Regions from separate parts of the Homo sapiens genome. Here region 1 is linked to region 2. The links are contacts of gene promoters, found by promoter capture Hi-C in blood cells and fetal thymus (Javierre and others, 2016). All regions are on one chromosome and are shown on one strand. Each heading gives the region's core, a stretch centred on a gene start or on the middle of the fragment in contact. The rest is flanking DNA. Distances are from core to core; before and after follow the strand shown.

What was found. The method cuts DNA at HindIII sites, captures the fragments that hold promoters and counts their contacts. A CHiCAGO score of 5 or more calls a contact.
Region 1: a contact is called between the fragment with the promoter of WFDC13 here and the fragment with the promoter of WFDC8 in region 2, in 11 of 17 cell types (M2 macrophages, M0 macrophages, endothelial precursors and 8 more). The highest score is 9.2, in M2 macrophages.

Annotation. Positions count from the first base shown.
Region 1 is chr20:45,700,721-45,703,503 of GRCh38, forward strand. It overlaps WFDC13 (WAP four-disulfide core domain 13), which reads left to right and starts at 1,318. Exons shown (of 4, transcript NM_172005.2): 1 at 1,318-1,491. The coding sequence starts at 1,404. All of the region lies in intron 2 of WFDC10B (WAP four-disulfide core domain 10B), which reads right to left. The HindIII fragment of the contact is 1,162 bases long and covers 446-1,607 here.
Region 2 is chr20:45,577,899-45,580,598 of GRCh38, forward strand. It overlaps WFDC8 (WAP four-disulfide core domain 8), which reads right to left and starts at 1,386. Exons shown (of 6, transcript NM_130896.3): 1 at 1,324-1,386. The coding sequence starts at 1,349. RefSeq lists an enhancer at 201-1,136. The HindIII fragment of the contact is 6,723 bases long and covers 1-2,700 here.

The sequences.
Region 1 (2,783 bases), core at 68-2,567, 120 kb after region 2:
TTCTAAAAGGGGAAACAAGAAGTTTTCATTTTAAATCAGGTATCAGACAAAAATACACACTATCACCACTTACATATGATGTACTCAAGGGCCTAGCGAGCACAGTGAGGCATTAAAAATGGCATAAAGTTTGAAGAAGAAAACTATAACTGCTTATTTGCCTATGATAAACACTGAAGAGAACACACAAAGAAACCATAATAAACAATGGGAGAATTTAGCAAGCTAACTAGTTACAAATTTGTGGAAAGAAGAAAAGATCCAAGCTTTAAAGAGAGGAAAGCAAGTTTGAAATAGTATTTGTAGAAAGTGGGAACACTGGCTTACTGAAGAAACTTAGTAAGATTGCCAGACCCTTTTTGGTTTGGTGATGGTGCATCTATTGTGCTGTTTAGTAGCCCAGTTGAGTTATTTTCCCCCAGCAACAATTATCTGCCTAGGTTCAAGCTTCAATGAAATTGATGGTTGGATTCATTCAGGGTTGCAGTTTTTGTAGGTAGATTCAAGCAAGGAGATTTAAATGACAGGTTCTGAGTCCTACATTGATAGAAAGAAAAGTAAACGCCTATAGGGGAGGACTACGAAATAGGGAAGTGAAGAGTCAATGTTTATTGGTTTCAGTGAGGTCAAATAATTGTCATGGTGGAGATTTTTGAGCAAACTGGAAAGTTAACTTCTCTACATTAGCAGTAAACAAAAGGAATTAGTTGAAAAGTTATGATAACATTTACAATTTCCTTTTAAAAACTTCAAGCCTCAGACCAGGCGCGGTGGCTCACACCTGTAATCCTAGCACTTTGAGAGGCTGAGGAGGGCAGATCACCTGAGGTCAGGAGTTCAAGACTAGCCTGGATAACACAGTGAAACCCCATCTCTACTAAAAATACAAAAATTAGCTGGACATGGTGGTACACGCCTGTAATCCCAGCAACTCAGGAGTCTGAGACACAAGAATTGCTTGAACCTGGGAGGAAGAGGCTGCAGTGAGCAGAGATCGCACCACTGCACTCCAGCCTGGGTGACAGAGCCAGACTCCATCATCTCAAAAAAAAAAAAAAAAAATTCAATCCTCTGTGAATAAATATAACATGTACAATTTCCACAGGGGAAAATTATAAAAAAATGTTAAGGGACATGAATAAGATCTAGATACAGATGAAAGAGATAGCAAGGTCAAGATTAGGGGAATAAAGGAGGATATGAAAACACTACGTGACCCTGGAGTGGGTGTGATTGGGAGGTGCTTGGATTCCTGCCCTGCCGGTTTTGATTGGAGTACACGGTGAAAGGCTAGTCACACTGGGCCTCCACTTTGCCCTCTTTCCTTCTCTTCTCCTCACAGCAGTGCCTGGTCAAACCCAGCAACCCTTGGCCAGAACTTACTCACCCATCCCACTGACACCATGAAGCCTGTGCTGCCTCTCCAGTTCCTGGTGGTGTTCTGCCTAGCACTGCAGCTGGTGCCTGGGAGTCCCAAGCAGCGTGTTCTGAGTAGGTGCTGGATCTGGGCCCAAGGAGGGAAGTAACATGTGTGGATAGGAGAGGATCTGAGGGCTGACAGTCTGTCACACCTCTTGGAAAAATACCGTGTCATGTTCAAGGGCCCAAGCTTTATTGTTGGCAAGATCTAGGTTTGAATCCCTGCTCTGTTGCTGAGTGACCTTGGGCATAGTATCTGGGCCTCAGGTTTTTATCCTTATAATGAATACAGGAGGAGAACAGATAATGCATGCAGACATAGCTCACTCTTACTAAACCATGGTAAATGCTCAGTAATATTAAATGCTGTAAATGTGATCAGCCTCATCATCCAGCTTAGTCTTGCTGCCCGTGGCTCCTTCATGGATGCTTGGACTCACTTTTCAAGCAATAAAACAGAGAGACAACGAAGTTGGTAGAACTCAAGCTAGAATCTACATAACCTTGGCCTTGGAGGATGTTTTGGGAAGGAGGGAAAGGAAGTCTTGCCTTTTATTCCACATTTTCAAACTCCAGAGGTACTGTACAATTACCGGTAATTAGCATCAATGGGACAGTGTAGAGTCCATCTCAGCAGCCACCACTGCCCAGCTCAACTCAAAAGAGCTCTGGCTCTAGTAATGTTGACCTTAACCAATACCAAGTGGGAAAAGAACTGTTATTCATCATACATCCACTCTTCTATGGGGAAAACATCTTCAGAATACTGGCGGCTCAGAAGAGGGATAAGTGTGGTAGCTCATGTGTCTGGGGAGGCTAGGTCCTGCTTAAGAAGTTTCAGAAAAGGCATGCAGGTTTGTAGGACTAAGAGGGACTAAGCAAGCTACAAGAAAATAGGAGTGCCCAGGGTAGAGTTAATTGGAGAATCAGAATTTGAGGAAAGGCACAAAGAGGCTTTCTAAAAGACTGGTAAATGCTGTGAGTGAAGTTGGGACCAGATACCCAGAAGAGGGGTCAAGACTTGAAAAGGGTGACCTCTCTGAGATCTCTGGATCATGGTGTCTATCTCTAAACTGCTCTGTTGAGCCCCAAGCTCTTCAAAGTGTGGATTAGTTCCAATTTCTTGCAGTGCCCCAGTGAGCTATAGAATAGCTGAGAGGCCAGGGGTGAGTACTAGTTATTGGTCTCTGTTAAATTGTCAACAGCTTGAACCTCAGCTTCTTTTACCCCAATTCTGGTGCCATTTGCTACTACAGTTATAGTCATGACCTCTTTCTTCATTCATTCCTTTCAAATCATCATAATATCCTATAGATTTCCTTCTAATTGCAAATATTTGCAGAGGAATAGACCCACAATTCCTC
Region 2 (2,700 bases), core at 136-2,635:
CAGGAGGCTAAGGCAGGAGGATCCCTTGAACCCAGAAGGTGGAGGTTGCAGAGAGCCGAGATCACACCACTATGCTCCAGCCTGGGGGACAGAGAGAGATTCCCTCTCAAACAAAACAAAAAAAATAAAAATAAAAATAAATAAATAAATAAAGTATGTAGAGTTTTATTTAATAATTAACCACACAGATTAAAAAATAGAAAGTAGCCAGCTTCCCAGAAGTCTTCTGTGTGCACCTTCTAATTACCATCTCTGTCATGTGTCTTCAGACAGAAGCACATATAAAAACAAGGTTATGTATTGATCAAATGATGAAAATGTGTGGTCAGAGGCTTGCATTTTCCCTAGGAGCAATGGCTCAGTATTTGCTAATCCGGTGTTCACAGTGACTTTACAGAACATAACTACCCCCAAGTAATGGGAATCAACTGTATTTTTATTACTTTGGTGTACAAAGAACTTTGAGCTCTCCATGGCTTGCCACAACAAAAGACTTCCTAGGCAAATTGTCTACTGCTTTGTTCCAAGTGGGGGCTCTACTTGAGGCTGTGGGACCAAGACAAAAGAAGCAGCCTCTATGTGGATTAGGCCCCTTCTCCTGGCAGAGAGAAAGCACAAAGGAGCTGGCAGAAACTCACAGTGCAAAACTCACTATGCATATGCTACATCTGCTCATACTCCAATAGGCAAAGCACAGCTGACAGCAAACCCAAAGTCAATGAGACAGAAATGTGTCTTCCTTCCACGGGCCGTTCTAAAATTGCAAGGTAATGGACAGGAGTGTCCTCTTAAAGGAAAGATGGAATGAATAGTTGTGAATAATAATATAACCCATCACTACTACTCCTGTTTTAATTTTTTGAAAATGTTTAGATACATATTATATGCTTGTTTAATTTAAAATATCAAACTTTACCTTGCTCAGGCTCTGCCCCTCCACACTGGGCCACTCAAAGATGCCCAACTTACCCTACTTGGGCTCCAACAGCCATATCAGGTTGCATTCGAGACCAGCCTGGCCAACATGGTGAAACCCCGTCTCTACTAAAAATGCAAAACTTAGCCGAGCGTGGTGGCGCACACCTGTAGTCCCAGCTACTAGGGAGGCTAAGGCAGGAGAATCGCTGGATGCATTGATGCCCTCTTCACCCTGCTTAGGCTCTGATTCCTGACACAAGACAGCTCTGTTCTGTGGAACCCCTCCTCACTATGCTTGGCCCAACTCCCCACAGCCGACCACTCTAACTTCTATGTATCCTCCTCATCTCCTTGGGCTCAGACCCTCCATGTCTGGCTACCCACCCCCATAGACACCCTCCTCACCCTCCTTCAGTTCGGACAGTCCACATCAGGCCTCTTCCCTATGGAGACAGCTTCCTCACTTTGCTCCAGCTCTAAGGCTCCTCCCTCATCTGCTCCCCTGCCTGGACACTCTGCTCACCCCACTCAGGCTCTCATTCTATGCCAGTCTGCCCCTCTAGCCCCAGGGGGATGCCTTTCTCAACATGGGCAGGCTGGTCTCCATGCTATGCTGCTTCTTGCCTCTTCACTGGGCATTCTCATCTACCCCTGGCTCCAGCACACCAGGCCAGCAGCCCTCCTACAGAGACACCCTCCTTGACCTGTTCCAGCTCTGATGCCCACACGGAGCCAGCCGTGGCTCCCTTCCCCTTGGGGCAAACGCCTACCTTGCTAAATGTGCCTATCTAATGGCTTTAGGACTGACTAGTTCAGTTAGTAAAGAAAAGGAGACAAAACAAGGAAGAGCTACTTTTCCTTTTTGTAAAAATATGTATTGTGAAAAACACCACAAAAATAAAAATATGCATGAAACATTAATGTTCAGTCTAACGAACTATTACGAAGTGACCACTCATTAAACTATCACTGAAATCAAGTAAAAAATTTCCAACACTTTCTGCTCCTTTTTCATTCTTTTCCAGTCACAACCCCTTCCTATGCTCTCAAAGGCAGCTAATGGTAGTGACTTTCTTTTTCATATTTTCAAGATCATATGTATTCCCCTAAATATGTTTTTGTTTTTGTCTGCTTCTGTTCTATATCAATGGAGTCACTTGGAATGTATTCTTTTGTGCCTGGCTTTTTGTGTTCAACATTATATTAATGAATTCCATCCACATTGTTTTGTGTAGCTGTATTTTGTCAATTTTCATTGCCATGCCATCTATTGTATGACTACACACATCTCTACTGAGTTGTTTATAGTTTGCAGCTGTTAAGAATAAAGCTGCTGTGTGTATACATAGCATGTATGTAATAACGTTCTGCACGTGTATCCCAGAACTTAAAGTATAATAAAAAACTAGGATTTTCTAAATAAAAATGTTATTTATATCAACATGTAATAAGTTTATTACGTTAAATGAATTAATAAATGTTTTTAAATGTCAAAAAAATTTTAAACAATTTACTCATGTAAAAAAAAGAATAAAGCTGCTATGAACACTCTGTGTGCATTTGCTGGAGCACGTGGGCAGGTGTTCTTGTAGGTTATACATTCAGCATAGGGAATGATGGGTTACAGGGTATGCATATCTTCAGCTTCTCAAGCTGATACCAAATTATTTCCCAAAGAGTTTGTACCAATTCACAGCCTTGCCATTGGTAGTTGAGAGTTCCTATTGTTCCATAACCATGCTGTATGTAGAACTGTCACAATCTTTTCATTTTTACCATCCT